Regions from separate parts of the Homo sapiens genome. Here all the other regions are linked to region 1. Evidence: promoter capture Hi-C in 16 types of primary human blood cells and fetal thymus (Javierre and others, 2016). All regions are on one chromosome and are shown on one strand. The core of a region is centred on a gene start or on the middle of the fragment in contact, and the rest is flanking DNA. Distances in the headings are between cores, read along the strand shown.

Region 1 (3,371 bases), core at 582-3,081:
TATGTGAGATTCTCACATTATAAAGGGTAAGGAAGTGAATCAGAAGCATTGAAAAGGGATTGTGTGTAACATGTTATCTCTTGCAAAAGGAAATTAAATTTTGGGACCCCAAACTGATTTAGCCAAAGGGAAAAGTCACGCTGGGACTGGTCACGCAAATCTGCCTCCCCCTTTTGGTTCCTAAATAAGATTGCTGCAAGATGAAAAGCTACATCTCTCCCCCGTATTTTGCCCACAAGGAAATTCTTAGTGTGCTGTTAAAACTTCATGGCAATGCAAATTGATAGCTTATCTTTACAGGTGGCCACCCCAGCCCGCCAGACACAAATGCCTATCTGATTGTTCCCCTACCCCATTTTGTCTGTTATCTTATGAAAAATGCAGACTCCCACATTCTTCCTCTGCCCATTTTATGTCATCTTATGTAAAAAATGCAGATTCACTGAGCCAGAGAAAGGCAAGAATTACTATTTTCTCCTACCGCCCCCTTACATGAAAACGGTGTGCTTCTCAATATCCCGCCCTTTCCCCTTTAAATTTGGAGCACTCAAAATCATCTTCGAAGAAAGGCATAGACCTGTTTCCTGGGCTCGTACTTAACTTCGGCAAATAAATCTCCTAAAGTGATGGACTCTCTTATAAATTAATCTGTAGCCAAGGCATGTCATCAATATGTCCTACTGTGCCTTCCTACCTCCCATTTATCAACTTACATGAGAAGCACACATCTTACTTGTCATAAATTATTACCTTAGTGAAAACCTGAGGGTGTCAAGAAGTCGAAAAATTTGAGACATTGACGTTGGGGAAGACACCTTTAATTAGAGCACCATAAAATCATGATAGAATGATACATTTTTCCTTGCCTTATATTTTTGGCATGCAAAACAGAAGGAGCTCAAACAATTGAGTGACACATTAGTAAAATTCCTTTCATTCATTTCTACTTACAAGGCACACACCATTGACCTCACCCCGTCCCCCCCTTTAAAACAATATTTGACCCGCGCCCCCCCCCCTTTAAAGCAATCTTTGAAAAGTTAGGAATGAAAGCCGGTTCAGGACAGTACACAGTACACAAATACTGGCTTCCCCTACCTCCACCACAAGCAAGTAAACATCCTAGCACAGTGTAAAAAGGAAGAGGCTGAGGACGAACCACGCGGACATTTGCAGGCACACCCCTTCCCTGCGACCAACAAAAATGCAGTAGCGCAATTACACTTGAAGGAATTGCAGCACTCACAAAAGCACACATTCTGTTCAATGGTTGAGTCCACATAAAGTGACAGTCCGTTTCTAAAAGCATGGCTGTATTTAAAGGACACATGGTCTGTTCAGGTCCGCTTCAGCGAAACCCCAAGCACTTCCGAGAGATCCACTCCCTCTCTCCGAGCAGGTGCCACTAGCTGCTCCGCCGGCGAGCGTAGGAAGCAGCGCGACCAACCAAATCGGTTGCCCACAACAGCCAGGGACGTCAAAAAGGCCAAACTGCGTGGGAAGCGAGCGTGCGCCTCCATCACCACGACAGCACCCGTCTCGAGGCTCCACCTGCCGCTAGTAGGTGGCTCTCAGCTCTGCTCTGCTAAGGGCGAGCTTGAGAACCCGGCCTACAGTTGTGCACCTCCCCCCGCCCCCGCCCCCGCCCCCGCCCCCGCCCACCGCACTTGTAGCCCCGCCCCGCCCAGGGAGCTTCCGTCACAACACTTCCGGCTCCAGCCTCCCAACCGGCCTCCGTCGTTTTTCACTTCCCTCTCCTCAGCTCTCTTCCCTTGCCCCTACCGTCTCCTTTAACACAGTCACGTGAGGGACGCGCGCGGGGGCAGCTGGGAGTAGTACTGCCGGTTGGTCAGGGTTCGGCCTCAACATGGCGGTTCCGGCCGGGCAGTGACCAAGGTTTTGCCGTCCGAAGGACTAAGTGGTGACTGTCGGCGTCTCCACCTATCGGGGTGGAATGCGAGCACGCGGGGACGAGCGCTGAGAAGCGGCGGTGACGGGAAGGGGGGGGTCAGTGGATTGTGCCCCAGAAACCGAAGCGGCGGCGTCTGTTCCTTCTTGTTTCTAGGCTCCAGTGCGTTCGGGGCCCCGCCCGGCCGGGCCAGGCCGGCGGGCGGCGGCGGTAGCTGCTGCAGCCGCAGGATAACCTCGCAGGGTGGGCCGGAGGGCGGGCGCCGCCGCTGCCTGTGCTGCGGCGATGGCCCAGTGTGTACAATCAGTGCAGGAGCTAATCCCGGACTCCTTCGTCCCCTGTGTCGCTGCGCTGTGCAGCGACGAAGCCGAGCGGCTCACTCGTCTCAATCACCTCAGCTTCGCGGAGCTGCTTAAGCCCTTCTCCCGCCTCACTTCCGAGGGTATGTGGTATCCTCCCTTTTCCAGTGGGCTCCCGCAAAGCCGTGGTCGGGAGAAGGAAGTTGCGGGCGGGCAGGGAAGAGAAGGGCAGTGTTTACGTCCTGGAGCCGGTACCGTGGCGTCTGGGGCTGTGGCCCCGCGGTGCTCCGGGGGCGGCTGGAGGAGGGACCGTGAGGTTGTCAAGACAGCGCAGTCCTAAGCTCCAGTTTCTCTGGGCACTTCCTTTCTTCCTCGGACAACCTAGGTCGTTAAGTAATTGGTGCAAAGATAAACGTGAGTCTTCGAGAACGGCATTGAGACTGTTCTCCACGGCCATAGCGAAGGAATTAGGCACTTGCAAAGCAGCTAAGGTAGGAAAATGCTGCCTCTTAGACCGACAGGGTCTGAGTAAGGAAGACCTGTCATCCTCCCTTGGATGTTAAACTGGACTTTGAAAGTAGTTGTGGATGTTATTACATTCTTGTAGCGTTGAGGGTCATCTCTGTCTGAACTACCGTGTAGCTGTTTTACTAATATATTCTTAGCTATACGGTATTTTGCTTAACCTCTCAAGAAAATTAAAAGTATTATAAGAAGAATAAAACTTGAAGCAGCTTTTTGCCCTAAGGAAGAGGAAGCAAGCCCAAGTTGTGGTTAATTTAACCTGGATATTTGGAGTTATCTATAGTTATAGGGATGGAAATGTCTTCTCTTGTTAATGAATGTCTTGTTAAGAAGCTACCCGTTTTCTCCAGTTTTGGATTTTTTTATTAGGAGAAAATAATGTGGTAAAGCTTCAAGCATGTTTTAGCCAATATCTTGCAAACAACAAAGTCCAAGTAAAGTTTTTTTTGTTAAGGTCGGTAAGAACTGAAGGGTTTCATAATAAGCCTGTGTCAGGCAAACGACTGTGATGTTTGTTAGCTTAATATGACTTATCCACAAAAAAAATCAGTGCTGTACCATTTTTGCGCTACCATGTTTTTTGGGAGAATAGTTCCATTATAAATTAGCTTTTGTTTTTAGCGGAGAGAGGGAGCTGT
Region 2 (3,371 bases), core at 1-2,500, 4.2 Mb before region 1:
TCCCCTATGACCTTTCCCCCAAACTGACACTTTCTCTAAAATGTCCATTCCCGTAGCTAAAACACAGGTAACATTTCCTTGAAATTCAATACAACAAAAGTTCATTAACCAAAACTGAAGGAAATACTGAAATGAGATTGCACCTGTGGGATGATGGTTTTAATCTACATATAAATTTCAATTGTTTTAAAACCCAAATTGATTAACGGTACTACAGTTCCCAAGGAAGGCTTCAGGTAAGATGCTTATCATTCGGGTTTCTGCGTGGGACTAACAGGTTACTAGCAGCTCATGGGCAGCAATGACCCTAGGATGACGCCACGCGTGAGACGGCAAAGGGTGAGGGGTGAGGAGCGAGTCCGGCAGGTCCACTGGAGACTCCGAGCCCAAACCCCGCTCCCCTGAGCCGACCCGACTCGCCTCCTAGGTCTGGGGCGGCAACTAACAGCGCGCCCGGAGCACGTCCACAGGTTCAACCCGAAAAGCACAAGGGTCGGCCGTCCAGCGACCTCTCTTACCAGGGGGTCATAGAGCACCACGGAGCAGGACGTGCCAAAGGCCAGAAGTCCTCTGGGCCCAGAGCTCCAGTTCAGGACTCCCCGCACCCGGTTTGGGCAGCAAAACACGTGAGAAGTCTCCAGCACGGGTGCCACCATGTCGCCAACTGGTCAGCCGCACAAACAAGAGACGCGCACTTCCGCCCTCGGAGCGGAACTACTAGGGTGGTTTCTCCTGAGGCATCACCCAGTCCACGTTTCGCAGCCAGCCGAGGGCCAGACGGAGGCAGCCCCGCCCCCCTGAGACTCTCCGTTCCCACCGCAGGCTGGAACCCCTGTGCAAGGCCGCCGCTTTGCTAGCTCTGCTCTTGGACCGTGGCCCCGCTCCGCGAACGAGCCAGGCCTTTGTCTCAAGAGCGAAATCCGACCCGAGTGGCTCGGGACCCTCCCGAAGGACCCGGGGCTCATGTGCCTGGGGCAGCGTCAGAAACATCTCGCTGCCCCTTACGACCCGGCTCCCAGCAGCAGCCAGGGCTGGCCCCGGGGGCGCTGGCTAGCGAGTAGGGCCTCGAGGAAATGACCCCCAACTGCTTACAATGCGCTAGGGCCGCGCCACGCCCCCGCGGCGTCGGCGAACACACGGAAAAGCGGATCCGTCTGCGGAGCCGGGTTCCGGGGTCGCACTGCGCATGCCCTGCAGTCCTGGGCGAAGGGGGCGGTGGTTCCCCGCGGCGCTGCGCGCGGCGGTAATTAGTGATTGTCTTCCAGCTTCGCGAAGGCTAGGGGCGCGGCTGCCGGGTGGCTGCGCGGCGCTGCCCCCGGACCGAGGGGCAGCCAACCCAATGAAACCACCGCGTGTTCGCGCCTGGTAGAGATTTCTCGAAGACACCAGTGGGCCCGTTCCGAGCCCTCTGGACCGCCCGTGTGGAACCAAACCTGCGCGCGTGGCCGGGCCGTGGGACAACGAGGCCGCGGAGACGTGAGTCTTTCAGGTCCGGGAGCAGGGCGGCTGGGAGGGGAGCTCCTCAGGCCAGACAGGCGTGGCGGGGTAGGGGTGGTTCTGCGGAGAACCGGATCCTGCGGACCGGGCAGGGGGGCTACAGAAAGAGGATGCTGGGGGGAGCCCGCCGCAGGCGCCCACTCACCCTAGAGAGCCGGACTTCTTAAGGTGCTCAGATGGGCTTCGGGGTGCAACGGAGGATTTTTTGAGGAAAAGATCCGTACTTTTCATCCCATATTCGAAGAAGGGACTGACGTGTTTAGAAATAAAAAGCTTTTAGAAGAGAGCTTTGTGCCCTCTTTTCCGTTTTCTGTACTCGCCTTTTTCTCTAAGGCCCTTCCCTTCTGCTTTCCTTTTTCCTCCAGCACACACCAACTTGCAGGAAAGGAGATCCTTCAACGGGTCCACGACCGCGCTCAGCATCCTCCCTGGAGAAAGGCTCGGAGCTGTCCCCTGTGCTAGTCCCCTCCCACCCCGCTCCTCGCCTCTCTCCTGGGAATGATTTCTAAATGTTTATCTTTTACCTAGTAAAAGAATTCCCGAAACTTCAAGCCCCAAAGATTCCTCTTTCAGGAGCCTCGTTCTACGCCGTACCTCCATTTCCCACTGTTCCCTGTATGATACCTCGCACTTGTGCAACACATGAGTTTAACGAGTACTTGTAATATACATTCCTTCATGTGTTTTCCTCCTTCGCCTTGCAAAATAGGTTTTACCGGTATTTTAGATAAGGTAATGAATGCGAGAGCCCTGTCCAAAGAACAGCTGACCGTGGTAGAGCTGGATAGCCCCATGCTCTTGCTTAGTTGTAAACTTGACGTCTGCGTCTTTTGCTGGAGATGTGAGTTTGACCACCATCACCTCCACCGTTGGTGCTGGACATCCTGCTGGATCTGAATTAACTGAATTCTGGCTCTGCTTAACTGAATTCTGCTTTTCAAGCTCCAACTCAATTGCTTCCTCCTCTTTGGGGCACAGGCCTTTGGTTCCAAACACTACTGTGGATGATTAACAGCCTGTGATTAAATGTTGACTGGTTTGTAGTAACACAAGGATGCTACAGTGAGTTTTTCATGAAGTTCAGTTTACTTTAAGAATTCTATGTATGGACATAATGTGTCTGATTCATTGTCAAGTCGGAAAAAAGATTCAATGTGTATTTAAAGTATACACTTATTTGAGGCTGGGCGTAGTGGTCACGCCTGTAATCCCAGCACTTTGGGAATTGGAGGTGGAGGATCTCTTGAGGCCAGGAGTTCAAGACCAACCCGGACAACATAGTGAGACCTCGTCTCTAGAAAAAAAAAAAAAAAACTTTAAAAAAAAAATTAAGTATACATGTATTTGAGTATGCATAGAAAATATCCTGAGGGATACACTGGCAAAATTGAGCACCTTTGAGGATTGTGATTGGGGAAAGGGGTCTTAAATGGGCTTGTATGTAAGGAGAGTGTATTAGTTTAAAATTTTTTAAATATGTGAATTCTGAGATTATTATTTCTATTTTTTGGTGTTTGAAGGTTATTTTATGAAATGATGGTGATGATCAAGGTAGCTAGATTTCATTTCGTTCTTTTTTTTTTTTGAGACAGGGTTTCACAATGTTGCCCAGGCTGGTCACAAACTCCTGGCCTCAGGTGATCTGCCTGCCTCAGCCTCCCAAAGTGCTGGGATTATAGGCATGAGCCACCACACCCAGCCTAGATTTAATTATGAATCATTGGCCTCAATGATTCAAATAATCGTTCAAATAAATTCTCAACTTCAGTAAGCAGTTGATGGCTGTGGCCACATGGATCTCCCTTGTCTCTGAATTACTATTGCTTTTACAGTGCTAATGGCAGTCTCTTAGCACTCAGCTCTTCTCCAGTTGT
Region 3 (3,371 bases), core at 309-2,808, 4.1 Mb before region 1:
CTGTGAATGATAATGGAGGATAAGGGAGGGAGAAGGTAGGGGAGTGGAAAGAAAAAGATTGGTGTGGGTTTGGGAGTTACTTCCGTCATTTCTGTAACGCAGCAACTTATTCTTGTGAAATTAATAGAGGAATAGTTTTAGAAGTCTAATATAAGAAGATGGGTAATGCAGTGGAAAAGACTCTGAATTTGTAGATTTTAGAGGGTCTCAATTGGGCAAGTTTCTTATAACTTCTGCGTTGCAGATGCCTTACCTGAAAAGGAGAGATTTAGAGTAAGTCACCTAAAGTCCTTTCCTATTCTATGATTATATGCCCTAATGCAGTGTCTTTGTTTTGCAAAACATTTGATAGTGTTCCTGTAAATGAAGTAAACTTTTTTGAGATGTCTGTCACTAAAATATTCAGAATCAGTTCATGTATGCAGAGCAACTTTGTAAAAAATTATCCTAGTGCGACTGAAAATAAAAAATTTCATTTGCTTAGTCTGAGCTTGTACTTTAATTCTTAATTCATTGGGTAGAGTGGACACTCTTCATTATTGTTGCAAACATCCTGATGGATATGATGGTTTTTTATCAAGTGTTAAAGGTTTTAACCGTTATTAATCAAAATAGACGCTTGCTTACTGAACCTTGTGAAAGCTATATGATGTATGTACGTAACAGCCAAAATGTGAGCCAAAATGTTGGCTGTATATAATGGAGACAATCTGTCCTTGTATATTGTTTGTGGTTATGAAAACGTCACCCATCCTTGAGAAGAAATTGATTTACAGCCTTGTTTTTCAGTTTATGTGTAAGTATGTGTGTATTGGCCCTGAATGAGGAATTCATCTTCTGTGAGTGGACGGAAAGGTTTCAGAAACACTGATATAAAGGTCTGGAAAGTAGCTGTGAACTTTGAAAAGTCAGGAATTAGCTTTGCTTTTACATTTTACTAGATTTCAGAATCGGTAACAGGTTTATCTTGTTTTTTGTTTTTGCAGAGAGCATTTAGAAACACATGTAATCAGTATAGGGTTGATACCCAGACTCTCTTAATAACTATTACAAATCAGTAAAAAAAAAAAATGGCAGTACTGTTTATAGGCATTTCACGTGAGGAAACCTGAAAGGTCAATAAATGATACTTAATCTTACAAATCAGGAAAAAGTAAGCCAGTGAGGTACCACTTTATGTTCATCAATTTGGCAAAATAATATGACAATATGGATAATTGTTGCAGAGAAACAGGAACTCTTATACCACTTGGTGGGAATGTAAAAATATGTAACTATTTTGTAGATCAACTTAGTTGATGAAGTTGGAGGTATATATTAAATATATCCTTTGACCTAGCAGTTTTCTTTCTAGGAATATATTCTAGAAATAAGTATTGTTCTCAAGAATTGTTTATTGCAGCTTCATAATAACAAAATTGAAAACAAGTGAGACCCTGCCTGTGCAACATAGTGAAACCTTTTCTTTACAAAAAATAAGAAAACAAAAAAACCATTCCATTAGTTTGAGAATGGACAAATAAATTGTGATATTAATAAAATGTAATACTATCGAAAAGTTCTCACGAATGGACTAGAGCTGCATGAAACAACGTGACTGAATTGAAAAACAAACAAAATCTTGAGCTAAGAAAACAAGGTACAGACGAATAATGCTATGGGGGTAAAGTCTAAAAACATGCAAAACAGTACTTCTTTTGTTTATAGATACCTATATTAAAATATGCATAGTAGTGATTAACACCATATTCCAAGATAGTGGTTGTCATAGTGTGTCCAGAATTGGTGGGTTCTTGGTCTCGCTGACTTCAAGAATGAAGCTGTGGACCCTCGCGGTGTTATAGTTCTTAAAGATGGTGTGTCCGGAGTTTGTTCATTCTGATGTTCAGACATGTCTGGAGTTTCTTTCTTCTGATGGGTTTGTGGTCTCGCTGGCTTCAGGAGTGAAGCTGCAGACCTTCACTGTGAGTGTTACAGCTCTTAAAGGCAGTGCGTCTGGAGTTGTTCCTTCCATCCGGAGTTGTTGGTCCCTCTCGGTGGATTCGTGGTCTCGCTGGCTTCAGGAGTGAAGCTGCAGACCTTCGCGGTGAGTGTTACAGCTCATAAAGGCGGCAGGGACCCAAAGAGTGAGCAGCAGCAAGATTTATTGTGAAGAGTGAAAGAACAAATCTTCAACAGCAGGGAAGTGGACGCAAGCGGGTTGTTGCTGCTGGTTTGGGTGGCCTGCTTTTATTCTCTTATCTGGCCCCAGCCACGTCCTGCTGATTGGTCCATTTTACAGAGAGCTGATTGGTCCGTTTTGACAGAGTGCTGATTGGTGCGTTTTATGATCCTTTAGCGAGACACACAGCACTGATTGTTGCATTTACAAACTTTTAGCTAGACACAGAGTGCTGATTGGTGTGTTTACAAACCTCTAGCTAGGCACAGAGCACTGATTGGTGCGTTTACAAACCTTGAGCTAGACACAGAGTGGTGATTGGTGCGTTTACAATCCTTTAGCTAGACAGAAAAGTTTTCCAAGTCCCCACCTGACCCAGAAGCCCAGCTGGCTTCACCTCTCAATGGCACTCGCCGCGGGACTTTGCGGCACCTAGCTTGGGCACTCTAGCAGCCCAGAGGGAGCTCGTCCCCCATCAAGCCCAGCAGGCACCCACCCGGAACCGCGCGTAGCCCAGGCTCCTGCCGGCGCCTCTCTCTCTACACCTCCCTGAGAGCAGATGGAGCCGGCTCCGGCCTCTGCCAGCCGCAGAGAGGGGCTCCCACAGTGCAGCAGCGGGCTGAAGGGCTCCTTGAGCACGGCCAGAGCAGACGCCGAGGCCGAGGAGGCGCCGAGAGCGAGCAAGGGCTGCTAGGACGTTGTCACCTCTCAATAGGAGAAAGCTATCTAATATTTAATGTATTTAAGAAAATGGTGCAAATGTGGTAAAATTGTAAGATGTGCTTTTAGCAAGGTTTGTGATGTTTCCATATGTTTAAGTGTTTCATAAGTGGAAAACGTTAAAGCATATAAAAAGATGCTTTAGGAGGAGGGTGGTAGTGATGATAGTGTTGATAGTAACGGTGATGCTGATGAACATACCGCTGCCGCTTTAATCCTCATATTAGCCTGGGCTACTCTGCCAAGGGTTTCCTTTTCTTGACAGATGACTGCTTTTGCAGGGTGTAGCCTTTGTGTCCTTCCCCTTTCCTGCAGTTTTGCTCATCAACTTCAGGATTCTCATCTCCTGTAGTTTAATGATAATGGCAATCAGTTACTGAGTACCAGACATTCTTTTAGTTATTTTACCATATCTTGAATCACATTATTTCTGCAGAATAATTATGAAAGGAATCGATCAATCTTGAAAGTATATTACAACAAACTAAAG
Region 4 (3,371 bases), core at 361-2,860, 4.0 Mb before region 1:
AGTGCTGGGATTACAGGTGTGAGCCACCATGCCCGGCCGTGAATGGTTCAGTTTTGTTGGCACATAGGATGATTTAAGGCAAAGAAAGACAGGCAGACAGACTGGTGCCAGATAGGGCTGGAAAGCCATGCTAGAGCATTTATCCATATGCTACACAGTGATGCTTCTAATCAGAGCTATGCTCCAGAAAGATGATCACACTAAAAGAGTTTGATCCTAGAAGCAGGGAGACCCATGAGGAAAATCACTGCAGTAGTCCTGACAAATGGTGCATAAGGACCTGAACCAGAATATAGCAGCACTATGGAGAAAAAGGAGCAAAAAGATGAAAACAGGGAAGTAGGATATATAGAAATCGGTGACAAGGACCAAGGGAATAGGGATTTTTGAATGTACCTGTCATTTTAGGTCAAAATGTCCAGAAAGGTGTGTTCATTCACAGAATAAGGAACTCAGGAGGATGGACAGGTTTGAGTGGTTAGCTGTGGGGCAATGATGAACTAAGTTTTGAACATGTAGGGGACTGAAGTGGTTATATTTAGCAGGCAGCTGGAAATAGGCACAGGAGATGTTGGAAGTAGAGTAACATACCTAGAAGTCAAATGCATTGAAATGAGCATTGAAGATATGGGAGTATGTGACATTAGAAAAGGGTATGGAGGAAAAATGGCCAAGTCCTGAAATGCATGGCATATTTAGGGAGTATATATTAAACACAGGAAATTAGAAGAAAACACTTAACACTGGCAATTCAAAAACTTCATGGATTAAGATACCTGAAAACCGATGCTGGGCTCTTGCCTTTCGAGCCAGACATGTCATGATTTGGGTTTGCAGTCCTTCTCTCTGGTGTCTTCAGGCTGAGTTTACTTGTAGGAGTGGCAGGATTGCTCTTCAATGTTGACACAAAGCTTCTACTTTTACCATGATGTTTCACTGTTCTGTTGCATGTTTTACAAGTGATCAACTACCATAAAAATAAGAAATATCAGTCCCGTCATTTATCTTATAATTTAACCCCATAAACCACAGGTTCATTGAATTCTTAAATGTCAGGGACTACACCAGATACTATAGGGGTAAGTAAAATAGAGGCTGTCCTTGGGGAACTTGCAATCTAGTAGCGAGAATCAGACAAGACATTTTTTTTTTTTTGAGACGGAGTCTTGCTCTGTCCCCAGGCTGGAGTGCAGTGGCGTGATCTCAGCTCACTGCAACCTCTGCCTCCTGGGTTCAAGTGATCCTCCTGCCTCAGCCTCCCATGTAGCTGAGACCAGGCGCCTTCCACTGTGCCTGGCTAATTCTGTATTTTTAGTAGGCAGGGTTTCGCCATGTTGGCCAGCCTGGTCTTGAACTCCTGACCTCAGGCGATCCACCCGCCTCGGCCTCCCAAAATGCTGGGATTACAGGCTTGAGTCACTGTGCCCAGCCGACAAATTTTAAATGAGAAAATGTTCAATAAAAATGAATGGCTAAACATTTGTATTTAATTTAAAATAGGTTTTCAAAGATAATGAACTCTACTTTTTAAATATAAAACCATGTTTGGTGGGAATTTGGGAAGAGATGGGAGATAATACTCTTTAACATCTGGAGGAATGTTCTTTGTAACAGCAGTAAGCATTTAATATTTTTTTGCAGATGAACTTCAAGCCTCTTCCCAAAAACAACATGGCACAGTATCACTGGAAATTTAAGTAGCCCCTTCAAATCCTTAGCAATTTTGTAAACATAGGTCTAAAGTAACTTATACAACCAAATGAGTTGTTATACTCTCACACCTCTCCACTCCCATCATTAGCTCTAGAGGTTGTCTTTCTTTTCAAGATTCATTTCTCAAGAAATGGTCCATTTTCTAGCTAATTTCCTTTCTTCTACATATCTAATTGACTGTGCACAGGACTCAGCCCATGCCTCGGCAAATTAATACAAACTAGTTTAAGTGAGAAGTAGTTTGATGTTCATGAGCAGATGAAAATGCCAATGGAAGATCTGCATCTATCAAAGGTCTATGTTGCTTTACACTTTTTGGAAGGAGGCTGTATACAGGTTAAAATAAATCAGCCGGGCGTGGTGGTGGGCACCTGTAGTCCCAGCTACTCAGGAGGCTGAGGCAGGAGAATGGCGTGAACCCAGGAGGTGGGGCTTGCAGTGAACCGAGATCACGCCACTACACTCCAGCCTGGGCGACAGAGGGAGACTCCGTCTCAAAAAAAAAAAAAAAAAAAAAAAAAAAAATCAGAAAAACAAATACCTCTAGCACCTTTCTAGCTGACTTCTGATTAAAATACATTAGAATGTAAGCTTCATGAGGGCAAAACACTGCAAGATAGTGAGGCAGCATTTGCTGTCTTCCCATTTAAGAACATTTTCCAAATATGTGGCAGTAATGATTTTTGAAAAATACAATTCTCCAAGAACTAAGAAACCGAATTCCATACTCACTTCAATATTCTATCTCTTCTTTCTTTCCCTTTAACCATTCAATTTTATGACAAAGCAAAATGCACCTACCTGACCAACACTGGTAAACTCCTAAATATGACAATTTTCAATCCAAGTAATTGCTAATTATAGTCTTAGGCCAGACATAAGCTGTCATAATGTCCAGTGCCCGGCACAGTGATAGACAATAAGCAGGCACTTGAACAGTTGATAAATGTTAACATAAAATATGCAGGGATATAAAGTGTATTTGCTACTGGCCTCCATATAGTAAACCGTACGTAATCTGATTTTGGTTGTTTTATTCCATCTTATATCCCCAATATTAAATGTTGCTTGGCATATGATAGACCCTCAATAAAATGTTGAAAGAACAAAAGATGCATTCACCTTTGTTGGGCATACCTGTAAATCCACTCTGACATGGAGTGGGAGGACAGCTGAAGAAGTGACATGATACCTACATACATAACATAGTACTATCTGAAGCAAAGGAGCATTAACTGAAAAAATAATGTAGTGGTAACTGCAATTTAGGTGGAGCCATAACGGTCAGTTCAAGAAATCCGCACATTTGTGAAAAATAATGCTCAACAATGGGATCTCAAAACAATTGAGAGCTCACCATGTTTGGTTTAGGTAATCATGAAAAATAAAAGTAAGCTGTCCTTATAATGAAACACTAATCATTAGAGAAGTGTTTATGTATATATTTTGATAATCCAAATATACTACTATAAATCTCTGAGTTATACTGAGGCTGATTCTTAAACTGATTTTAAGTGAAAGAAAAGAAAATTCTAGTTTACTCATACATACTGGAACTGAAATCTTACCAATACACTTTTGGAGTCTTTGAACTTTTTCACCATTTTTGCTTCTTTAAAACTGAGTGTATAGTTTCTCGCTTCTCGATTAAGAAGTTT
Region 5 (3,371 bases), core at 403-2,902, 3.4 Mb before region 1:
AAAGGGTTTTGTAAAATTTTGCAACATTTTTAACTTCCTCAAGGTTAGGTTTCAGATTTATTATTTTTGTTTTCCAACATTAATTAGATGTAAAAACTCTTAAAACAAAAATGCCTTCAGCTAGCCTTTACAAATCAGATAAGAGGGAAAGGTTGGGAAGAGCAGCCAAGTTGCTTAGGGGCCGTATCCAAGTAGCAGAGTGAAAAGGCTGTACTTCTGAAGCTTCCTGCAATGGAGAGAAGTGTTAGCAGGGGTTGTGAGAAGAGCTCTGGTCGGAATGAAAAGCAGTGGTATACCATCAGCTGCTCGCTCACTTGCTCTCTCATGCACGAATCCAGCGGAGCCTGACGGCACTTTTCAGAGGGCATTTTCTCCAATGAGGCAAAAAGTCAAAGCCTGAGGATCTTGAAATGCTTATGTTAGGCTGGATCTACACTTTTGACCAGTCCTTAAACAACAGGGCTCCTTTGTGTGGTGTCTGATGCCAATCATGTGACCTAGCTAAAGGCAGCAATGTAACCATCCCACAATTCATTTATTTATTCAACAAATATTTATTGAGTTCTCTATTTACCAGGCAGTCAGCTTCCAGGATCTAGGATGGGATACTGTGGTGAGCAAGACAGACAAGGTCCCTGCCCTTAAGGGACTTAAAGACAAAACAAAACAAAAAATAAAACAAGTAAATAAATGAGATCACTTCCATTAATAACAGTGCCATGAAGGGTCATGCGCCATGAAAGGCAGGTGGTGAGGCTGAGGATCTTGGGCCACAATGAGCCGAGGAGCTGAGGTGACTGGGGGCGCCAGGGTCTGGGGGTGCGGGCAGGCAACAGACCACAGGGGACTTACAGGCCATTATAAGGAGTTTTTATGTCATAAATTATTATGACATAAATTGGAGGGCTTTAAATAGGGGAGTGAAGTGGTCTGATTTGTAATTTTAAATGATCGCGTCAGCAGTTGTTTTATGGTATAAAATGCCCAGCTTTAAGATGACCATGCATTCTACAAATTCACCGTGACATCACTGCCAAAACTCTTAACCTGTCTTATCTAGTTTTCCTGACAGATAAATAGGTCGGAATAAAGCTCCATGACATAACTAGTGGGAGCCAAAGATTTGAATCACGTCTTGGTTTCAAATCTTGCTACCCACAAATGAGTTGTGAGCTCTTGTCAGGTTATTTACTGTATTTGTGCCTCAACTATCTCAGCTGTGAAATGGGGATAATGAAAGTTCCTACATCATTTATTTGTGGAAAAAAAAATGACATGTAAAGCACGACGAGAGCGCCTGGCACAATGTAGTAAGCTTTCACAAACACTCACTTTCATTCCTTCTTGCAGGGGATTACTGAGAGGATCCACAAGATAATGCACGTGAAAGGGCTTGCGAAATTGTAAGGACTATCTTAATGGTAGAGTCCTCTTTATGTTTTCTTTTAAACGGTCCAGAGGACGCTGGGCTGTTCGAGGAGAGGCGCGAGGCCAAGCGCAGCCTCAATGCGGTCATTGTCGTGGGGCCGCCCCTCCCCCGCCCGGGGCGCTTCTCCATGGCAACGTGGGCTTTACCTCTCCCCGCCTCCTCAGGCCCGCAGACCGGAAGCAGCCCGCGCCGGGGGCTTCTGGGAAAAGGCTTGTGAACGGCGTTTCTGCGTCTGCCGTGGACAGCGAAGCTGCTGCGGTTCCTGAGCCGGAGGTTTGCGCCGGTGTGCGGGGAACGTTATGAGAGGGAGGGGGGACACCGGGCTAGGGTCTGCGGACCTCTTAGCAGGAGCCGGCGGGGAAGCCTGTCCGGGACCTTCCTCAGCTTCCCGGGAGGCGCGGGGAACAGGCCGCGGTCTCCGCGCCTAGCAGTTGTGGGGCGGGGAGGGGTAGGCGGCAGGCCTGCTTGGGTCTTCGGCATTTGCAGAGAGCTCTCTAACCCCCTGTGTCCTCCGAGACCCTCACCTTCCCCCTCCCCCACCGGCCGGTTTTGTTCTATTTCGAGGCCCTGGCGTCTCGCGGAGGGTTCTGGGAGTCGTGATGGGAGGGGGTGGTAGTGGGACGAGACTTGCGCGGGGCTTCTGGGATTTGTAGTCTCACCGGCCGCAGGCGGAAGTGCCGTGGTTCCGACGCTGTTGTCACAGGGTGGCCTTTGGTCATCTGAAATCCGCGGTCCTGAGTGCTGGGAAGAGGGGCTAGAGGACGTCGGGCCGGGGCCGGGGCCGGGGCCGGGATACACAGCAGGTCTATGCAGCAGTAAGGTGGGCGATCCACCTGGGACGAGGTACCCTGCCCAAACATTGTCGGGACCGTGGGCCTTCCCTCCATTTCCCACAAGCGGTATGCTCTACAGCATAAAAGGAAGAGAAAATTATGTAGAAATACTTGCACCGTTGATAAGCAGGGTCTTGGAATAGGAACGAATGAATGTTGGCTAGACCTTATGTATAAGGCCACCACACTCCAGGGTATTTAATTAAACCAGTATGTATTACTTGTCTGATAAGGCCTTTTCTGATTCTAGTCTTCATCTTGCTTGGGTTACAATAAGTTTTTTTAAGTTGTTATTGTTCAGATTTTGGGCCCTGAATAAATAAATAGGCTGAATGGCTCATTGCTAGTATGTGTCGTAAACAACAGCACGGGCATGATCGTGCAAATAATAAAGGTCCAGAAGCAGTATACAGTTTCACTGAAGGTAGAAGCTGGGGAAACTGTGAGTCCTCCAGTGTAAGGACAAGACACTGGACCACTGCAGGAAGTCAAGGTGCTTATGCGAGTGCCTTTTCTTAATAGAAGTTTCTGTGATTAATGCCTATCATTATAAATATAAATGTACGTATGGTGTGGTGGAAGACTGAATATTTACGTATTATGTGCAAGATAATTTTTCAAAATTATGTGATGTTTTTCACATATGATCTTTTCAATATTATGTGATCTGCTACTCAGCAAGTGAACATTTTTTCACATATAAGTCCAAGGAGTTCTTAAACACCTTAAAAATATTTTTTAAATGGTAAAGAAAATTTTTTTAAGCACATAATAATAAAGCGAACCTTCCTTTTGAGTTGACTTGTGTGTGTCAGGAAACACCAATCCTGAATTGGAAATAATGCGTTCCAGGGTCAGGCACATTTAGAAAGCACTGAAGTAGTCTGGTTCTTACTTGGATTCTTTTGATTATTGACATAGGGTTTGTCGTCTTAGTAGGTCATGATTGGCAAACTTTTTCTGTAAGCGGCCATATAGTAAATAAGGTCATGCATAACTCAACGATAGTGCTATGGTCTGAGAAATATGTTAGGCTATTTCATCCTTGTGTGAACGTCATAGAATGTACTTGCACAAACCTAAATGGCGTAGCCTACTACACACTTAGG
Region 6 (3,371 bases), core at 437-2,936, 3.3 Mb before region 1:
CAACTCTGGCATTAGCCACTGATAGCAAAGTTCCTGGAGTCGGCTCAGAGCCTCCCGGGGCCCAGGTGTCTCCTGGTAGCAAAATTTTCTGAATTGCTGACGAAACAATTCTTGGCAGGATTGAGTACTCCCATTCTGCTTAAATTTCTCATCCCAGGAAAAGTTATCTTCTACTTTCACTAGTATTAGTTCTTGTTCCGGAGGATCCTGAGGTATCAGGGTTGAAATCACTCCAGATTCCACAGCCATTCTTGGCTGAAACAGCTTAGCAAAAAGCTCAGTACAACTGGTTCTGTGCTTGCGAAGGAGTGTGAGTAATCTCTTCTTTCCTGAAGGATATAAAAGCAGTTAACTTACAGCAATCAATAAAATCTCTAAGTACTTGTAATAAGAAAGATGAGTAACTTTAGTAATATATTGAAAGGGAGTAGATTTGGGGCTATCACTAAATAAAACAATAATGTGATGATAAACTAAAAATCATTAACCTCAATTAGTGTCTCCCATTATGAAGAATTCCTACCACTAATGTTAGAAAAAACTATTTTAGAAGCCTAAGAATGTGAATGCAACATTAACATCAATCACATAGTGAGAAAATTTCCTTTCCAATTCTTTCAATTCTGATTGTATCAAGGAGAAAAGTCTATCTTTAACATGTATGTATTAATAAAACTTGTAGAACTCTCTTTTAAATAAAATACAGGCTTCAGAATCAGACTTCCAAGAGTAAAAATATTTAGGCAGAATTTAGTAATACTGATTTTAAACATTTATTTTTACTTACTTTCTATCTAAAGCAAGTAATGTTGATTTTCATTTAAGGCAGTAATAACGTTTTTTTAAAAGTTCACATTAAACATGAGTTGATGTAAATATTGGATATTTGTCATTTGATCGCATTTGGTGTTTACCGAATTACTTCAACAAACACTGAGGCACTTACTGAGCATTAAGATTTTTGCTTATGAATAAACGAGTCTACAGAGGAATTGACCAAGAACCAAGACGTATCTGTAAAATGCTTACCATGTGTTCAAAAACATGATAGGTATCACATACACAAAAGCAGCAAAGAGATCCGTATCAGTTCTGAAAAAGCTTAGAATATCCCAAGACTAAAAATGTTCAAAAGCAAAATATGGTAACAAATAGGTATTAAATGTTGTGACACAGACCAAACTTGACCTGCTTTTAGGATGGCGAGATATCGATAGGAATGTATGCCCTTAGTTTGTCAGGACAGATGAGTAAAATTCATTCCTCACACTACGGTTAACGTTAAGAGATGAATTAAAATATTTAGCCTACAAATTTAAGGTTTAACCAGTCCGGCCGCACTAACTAACTAACTAACTAGCCCTTCTATTTTTATATCCTTGGTTAAACCGCAGCATTTACGAAGTCACGGGGTCAGCGGAACTGCGTTTTCCTTTGGAAAGCAGGAGTTTGAGTGCTGGCCTCCTCTGAGTTCCCCAGTCGCTTGGAGACGCCGCGCGGGCCAAAGGGCCGCGACCTGGGGATGGGCAGGCCGAGGAGCGGAGCTCCTCCACTGTCCGGCGCGCGCTCCCAACCCCACCTCCCTCTTCCTAGGGGCCCACGTCCCTCACCGCGAAGCCCAGGAGCGGCCAGGAAATGAGCCACCCACCCCGAGCTGCAAGCCACAAAGACCGGAAGTGCGCGTACGCAGTGTTCCGCTCTCGCGCCCTTCGGGTCCTCCGCCGCCCCGCCCCTTGCTCTGAGGTAGCCAATCAGAGCCGCGGGCTCTACAGTTTCCACCGCCTTCTCCCGGTAGCCGCTAGCCCGGCGGAATCTCCAAGGCCAGGGGAGGGTGCGCTAGGAGTCAGGGGTCCTTGTGAGCGGCGGCACCTGGAGGGTCCCGCATCTCGCCTGGGCCGTTCCCACCCTGGCTTTCTCCTGGCACCACCCATCATTGTTGGTCTCAAGTAATTCCCGAATCTCACTCCCAGTTTTCCATTAAAATATTCAGATTTTCGGCCGGGCGCGGTGGCCGAGGCGGGCGGATCACGAGGTCAGGAGATAGAGACCATCCTGGCTAACACGGTGAAACCCCGTCTCTACTAAAAATACAAAAATTTAGCTGGGCATGTTGGCGGGCGCCTGTAGTTCCAGCTACTCGGGAGGCTGAGGCAGGAGAATGGCGTGAACCCGGGAGGCGGAGCTTGCAGTGAACTGAGATGTGCTGCACTCCAGCCTGGGCGACAGAGCGAGACTCTGTCTCAAAAAAAAAAAAAAAAAAAAAACCTCAGATTTTCCTGTGATTCCAGTTCTTTTCCGACAAAAGTAAATGTAAGGATGAATAGGCTGAACAAAAACTAACAGTCACTTATATTGCTTTTGCCTATGAGTATCACTGGAGCCTTACAACAGTTCTGTGCTGTGGCTATATAATCCCAAATTTACAGCCGTAGACATCGCCCAAAGTCAGGCAACTTGTGACCAGGGACGTCCACGTCCCCATAGTTCAAGGAGACTGGTATCGTAGACTCCTGGAGCCTATCTTAGGGTCTTCCCGTTCTTCAGTGGAAGCTTGCTGGTATTGTCTCACTGTTTAAATTTTTCTTTGGCTATTTAGTCGGTGAAAAATGATGCCTCATGTTTCAACTTTGTGAGCTTAAGATAGTCCCCCTTCATGTTTACTGACCATTTATGGTTCTTCAGAGATGGCTTTTCCCATTTAAAAAATTAAGGGAGTAAGATTTTTCTTTTTTATTTGTGAGAATTTTTTGCTTATTAAGGATAGCAACTCGTTTGTTGCAAATCGTTTCCCATTTATTTGTATTTATTTTTAAAACGTTACATTTTACATGTTTAAATGTTACATATTTTTAAAATGTTATATTAAAAAAGTACACAGGATAATAACAAAGCGATACATACATACATAGAAACAAATTCTCCTTTGTGAGCCAAGACTTAAAACACATATTTGAGAAAAATGTTCGTTAGCATTCAAAGCTATTAGTGACTCACTAAATAATTTTATCATTGTGAAATGACTACAGCAATTTTACAAAGCAAAAAACCAAATAATATTAATTTGTTTATAAATTATCAATTGCTTCATAATGAACCACTTCAAGACTTAGTGACTAAAAACAGCAGATGTTTTATTGCTCACAGTTCTGTTGCCAGGAATTCAGGAAGGGCTTAGCGGAGATGGCTAGTCTGCTTTATGATGTGTCAGCTATCTTCACTTAACTGGGGTGGAAGGTCCAAGATGGCTTCACTCAAATTGCTGAAGTCTTGGTGTTGCCTCTTGGTTGAAGTTACTTGATTCTTCTCCACAAGGCCTCTCTCCATTCAGGAGTTTAGCCTAAGCTTTCTTACATGGTGACTGGCTTCCAAGA
Region 7 (3,371 bases), core at 261-2,760, 3.1 Mb before region 1:
ATTTCTATAAAAATTTGTATTTTCTTCTGTATAAATTTTTATGGATAGCCAAAATGCCTTTAGGAAGTATAATCTTAGAAAGTATAATTATATATACATATATATGTGTTATATATAGTATTAACACATACTATATATGCCCAGTTCTCACCATTGTGTTATAGTATTAACACATATACTATATATACACTATATATAATAGTATATATAGTATAGTGTACGTATAGTATTAATACATATACTATAAACACATATACACATATAGTATATGTGTTAATACTATAAATACTATGTGTATATAGTATACATACACACATATATAATACATATATGTTACTACTATATATGTGTGAATATAGTATATGTAGTATATGTGTTAATACTATATGTAACACATATATAATTATACTTTCTAAAAGTATATATGTATGTGTATATATACTTTCTATAGTGTACATATGTATAAATACACACACACACACATATATAGTATATGTGTTAATACTATATAAATATATGATATAGTTTGGATGTTGTCCCCTCTAAATCTTGTGTTGAATTAAAATCCCCAGTGTTGGAGGTGGGGCCTGGTAGGAGGTGTTTGGGTCATGGGGTCGGGTCCCTCATAGCTCGATGCTGTCCTCATGACACTGAGTGACTTCTCACATGAGCTGGTTGCCTAAAAGTGTGTGGCACCTCCCCCTCCACTCCCTCTCTCTTGCTTCTGCTCTGGCCATGAGACATGCCTGCTCCCGCTTCGCCTTCCACCATGAGTGAAAGCTCCCTGAGGCCTCCCCAGAAGCTGAGCAGATGCTGGTGCCAGCTTCCTATACAGCCTGCAGAACTGTAAGCCAATTAAACCTCTTGCCATGTTGTCTTTCTGTTCCAAAGTCATTGCTAAAATCAGATTCTTCCAGCATGGTCATTTTACCTGCTGGAACAAAGAGAGGCCTAGAAATCACAGAAAGTTTGAGTTTTTGCCATATTTTCTTAACTAGATAAGCATTAGAGGACACCATCACTCAAAGCTGTCAACTTGATCATTTCATGTATTTATCACAAACTTCTGCTCCCTTAGAAAAGACAGTAATTCTTTAAGAAACTCTGTCCTGGTTCAAGTGAGTAAAATCTTAATTCACTTGGGGAGATTTGACACTGAAAACACAGTGTTTTTTTTTTTTTTTTAAGTAACCTACTAAGAAATTATTTATTGGTGGCCTATAAAACTCTGTTCAGTCTTTACCTTGCTAATGATTTATTTTCATTAAAGTAAATGATCATCTTTGGGGAGGCATTTTATAAAAACATATTTAGGAGAAATTTCTTTGATTTATGCTATAAGGTAAATGTTGCATAATTTCTTGCCTATGTGAATTGTAGGTTTCCACTTTGAGAGAATTCTCTCAATCTAATAATAAAGACCAAGGGCCAGAAACACTAAGATAAACAATCGGAATTTTAAAATGAGCTAAGAAACAAGGTTTGTATGATACCAATGGGATGTGTGTGGAGTGTTAGAAAGAAAAAGGGCTGTTGGAATAGTGCTTCAGATATTGGCTAAGTTTGACATACTCAATGTAGTATTACAGAGGCAGCTAGCTGAAAGATGGCCTGAAGTCAGGAAGAATAAAACTGTTCTTAGATATATATTCTAACTTAATTCACTGTAGAAAAAAGATACTTCTCACAGGAGAGAAGAAAATCAATTTGTCCTTTAAAGTGAAATTGACTAAAATAAGAAGTAAACACACACACACTATTTAGGGTAAACTCCATCCACTCTGGAGTCTGCCACCAAGGTGATAACCTTCTAACTGTCAGAGGAATTGGCCCCAAAGTCACAGGGAGTGTCCTGAGCAGTTTCATCAGCCACATCGGAACTTTTTACATCATTAAATGCCAAGGGAAGATGCTTCATAATGAACCAGAAACCTGGTTCATTGTTTGGGAAGATCAGAATAGTGGCAGCTCTCCACACTTGCCACTCCTAAAAGTTAGACTGATAGCTATGAAGTGGGCATCTGCAAATATAAAAGCCACTGTCTGGGCTAAGTACCAGTCTCATTATGGAACAAAGCTGCATTCATTGCTTCTACTCAAGGAAAGACATCCTGAGCCAGAGAACATCTACCTAGTCCTGATCTCTGCACATTAGAGGGCTCAAGCTCTCGCATGGCATTAAGTATTTTCTAGTGATTCTAGACCCACACAGTGGTGCATTGGGATCCCGTTTTCCTTTTAGCTCTCATTTCAAAACTGAAGATCCACTGCAGTAGGCATCTGTTTTCATTACACTATCTTCAGTCAATAAACTTTCAGTAGCTTCTTATTTCCAAGTTCCAACTACCCCGCCTGCTTTTCAATGCTTTTATTTTCTACCACTGCCCAACACACCTGGCCAGGCCAGTGAAAATTCTGCCTGATCCTAAAGCCTACATTCTTTTCAGCAAAATTTCTGGTTTCTCTCAGTGTCTTTTAGCTTCCTACAGCACACTGGACTTCAGAGAAACTTTTTTTCCCCCTTTGGGTCACTGGGGGTTCAGGAAATGCAAACCACTTTCGCTATCAGACTAAGCAAAATACCAACACTGTAAGTCTTTTACAAAATGAGCGGTTTTCCATCGGACTTTACTAGGACTCAAGATCCTTCAAGGGGCATCTAGCACAGACCTTGGCCAGAGCAGACTTTCAAATATTTGTAAAATTAATTAATTCTCTAAACCAAACAGAATATTTAAATTAGTCCCAAATTTCCCCTTCCAATTAATCTAGAATTATTCACTGCAGCTTCAAGAGGTCCCTGTAAATAAAGAAAAGATGCTGCATAAGGAAATCAACCTTCTGAATTCCAGAGGACAATCTCACAGCACTGCTCTAAGATAATGCACTGTCAACAGATACCAGCTACAGAGCAGGAGTGAGCCTCTCCCCAAAGCAAGAGCACCCGGAAGACCATTCCATTAACAGAAGCTCTGAAAATCCGTAAAAGAAGTTCCAGAGTTGGGCATGTACTAAAGCATCAAGTAATCTTCTGATTTTTACAAACACTAAGAAAAATAGTAAGGACAAAAATCTTTATTTTTGGAAAACCTCCTTTGACAGTATTAAACCTAGATGATACTAACAAATACATAATAAAGACATGAACGTAGACTTTTGCAATCTATAACTGCTGTTTTGGGGAATGTGATGTGAAGCCTATGTTCTGATAAAAGTGAGCCATGTTACAATAGCCTCTATTGAATGGAACACACTTTCACAACTCTTTTATACACACACGTGCACAAAAAAACACACACACATGCACAATATTACGATATTTCTCTTTGTTTTCCTTAACAACAGCATGTTTTTTAAAACTGGCAAAGCTG

Evidence for each region. The method cuts DNA at HindIII sites, captures the fragments that hold promoters and counts their contacts. A CHiCAGO score of 5 or more calls a contact.
Region 2: the fragment with the promoter of SLC39A6 here is called in contact with the fragment with the promoter of TRAPPC8 in region 1 in 2 of 17 cell types (non-activated CD4 T cells and total B cells); the score reaches 8.3 in non-activated CD4 T cells.
Region 3: a fragment that was not itself captured here is called in contact with the fragment with the promoter of TRAPPC8 in region 1 in 1 of 17 cell types (total CD4 T cells); the score reaches 5.8 in total CD4 T cells.
Region 4: a fragment that was not itself captured here is called in contact with the fragment with the promoter of TRAPPC8 in region 1 in 1 of 17 cell types (total B cells); the score reaches 5.1 in total B cells.
Region 5: the fragment with the promoter of ZNF24 here is called in contact with the fragment with the promoter of TRAPPC8 in region 1 in 1 of 17 cell types (non-activated CD4 T cells); the score reaches 5.9 in non-activated CD4 T cells.
Region 6: the fragment with the promoter of ZNF397 here is called in contact with the fragment with the promoter of TRAPPC8 in region 1 in 2 of 17 cell types (naive CD8 T cells and non-activated CD4 T cells); the score reaches 5.9 in naive CD8 T cells.
Region 7: a fragment that was not itself captured here is called in contact with the fragment with the promoter of TRAPPC8 in region 1 in 1 of 17 cell types (naive CD8 T cells); the score reaches 5.2 in naive CD8 T cells.

What each region holds. Positions count from the first base shown.
Region 1 is chr18:31,941,588-31,944,958 of GRCh38, reverse strand. TRAPPC8 (trafficking protein particle complex subunit 8) reads left to right here and starts at 1,831. Exons shown (of 29, transcript NM_014939.5): 1 at 1,831-2,351. The coding sequence starts at 2,195. RefSeq lists enhancers at 1,847-2,056, 2,158-2,936 and a silencer at 2,107-2,226. The HindIII fragment of the contact is 12,839 bases long and covers 1-3,124 here.
Region 2 is chr18:36,127,219-36,130,589 of GRCh38, reverse strand. It overlaps SLC39A6 (solute carrier family 39 member 6), which reads left to right and starts at 1,250. Exons shown (of 10, transcript NM_012319.4): 1 at 1,250-1,476. It overlaps ELP2 (elongator acetyltransferase complex subunit 2), which reads right to left and starts at 691. Exons shown (of 22, transcript NM_018255.4): 1 at 519-691. The coding sequence starts at 656. RefSeq lists enhancers at 440-649, 441-946, 810-999, 1,030-1,324, 947-1,452. The HindIII fragment of the contact is 4,684 bases long and covers 1-1,772 here.
Region 3 is chr18:36,063,576-36,066,946 of GRCh38, reverse strand. All of the region lies in intron 1 of RPRD1A (regulation of nuclear pre-mRNA domain containing 1A), which reads left to right. Among named protein-coding and RNA genes, the nearest start is that of RPRD1A, 2.3 kb to the left of the region's middle. The HindIII fragment of the contact is 5,831 bases long and covers 1-3,371 here.
Region 4 is chr18:35,975,006-35,978,376 of GRCh38, reverse strand. It overlaps RMP24 (ribonuclease MRP subunit p24), which reads right to left. Exons shown (of 5, transcript NM_031446.5): 3 at 3,282-3,371; 4 at 777-967. Among named protein-coding and RNA genes, the nearest start is that of RMP24, 4.0 kb to the right of the region's middle. The HindIII fragment of the contact is 1,393 bases long and covers 914-2,306 here.
Region 5 is chr18:35,342,701-35,346,071 of GRCh38, reverse strand. ZNF24 (zinc finger protein 24) reads left to right here and starts at 1,652. Exons shown (of 4, transcript NM_006965.4): 1 at 1,652-1,712. LOC124904283 (a long non-coding RNA gene) reads right to left here and starts at 2,018. Exons shown (of 2, transcript XR_007066337.1): 1 at 1,333-2,018. RefSeq lists a silencer at 1,425-1,594 and an enhancer at 2,275-2,334. The HindIII fragment of the contact is 2,541 bases long and covers 1,318-3,371 here.
Region 6 is chr18:35,239,349-35,242,719 of GRCh38, reverse strand. ZNF397 (zinc finger protein 397) reads right to left here and starts at 1,686. Exons shown (of 4, transcript NM_001135178.3): 1 at 1,611-1,686; 2 at 1-329. The coding sequence starts at 249. RefSeq lists a silencer at 1,505-1,634 and enhancers at 1,424-1,949, 1,895-2,004. The HindIII fragment of the contact is 1,449 bases long and covers 1,104-2,552 here.
Region 7 is chr18:35,045,531-35,048,901 of GRCh38, reverse strand. All of the region lies in intron 1 of MAPRE2 (microtubule associated protein RP/EB family member 2), which reads right to left. Among named protein-coding and RNA genes, the nearest start is that of MAPRE2, 5.8 kb to the right of the region's middle. The HindIII fragment of the contact is 4,794 bases long and covers 1-3,371 here.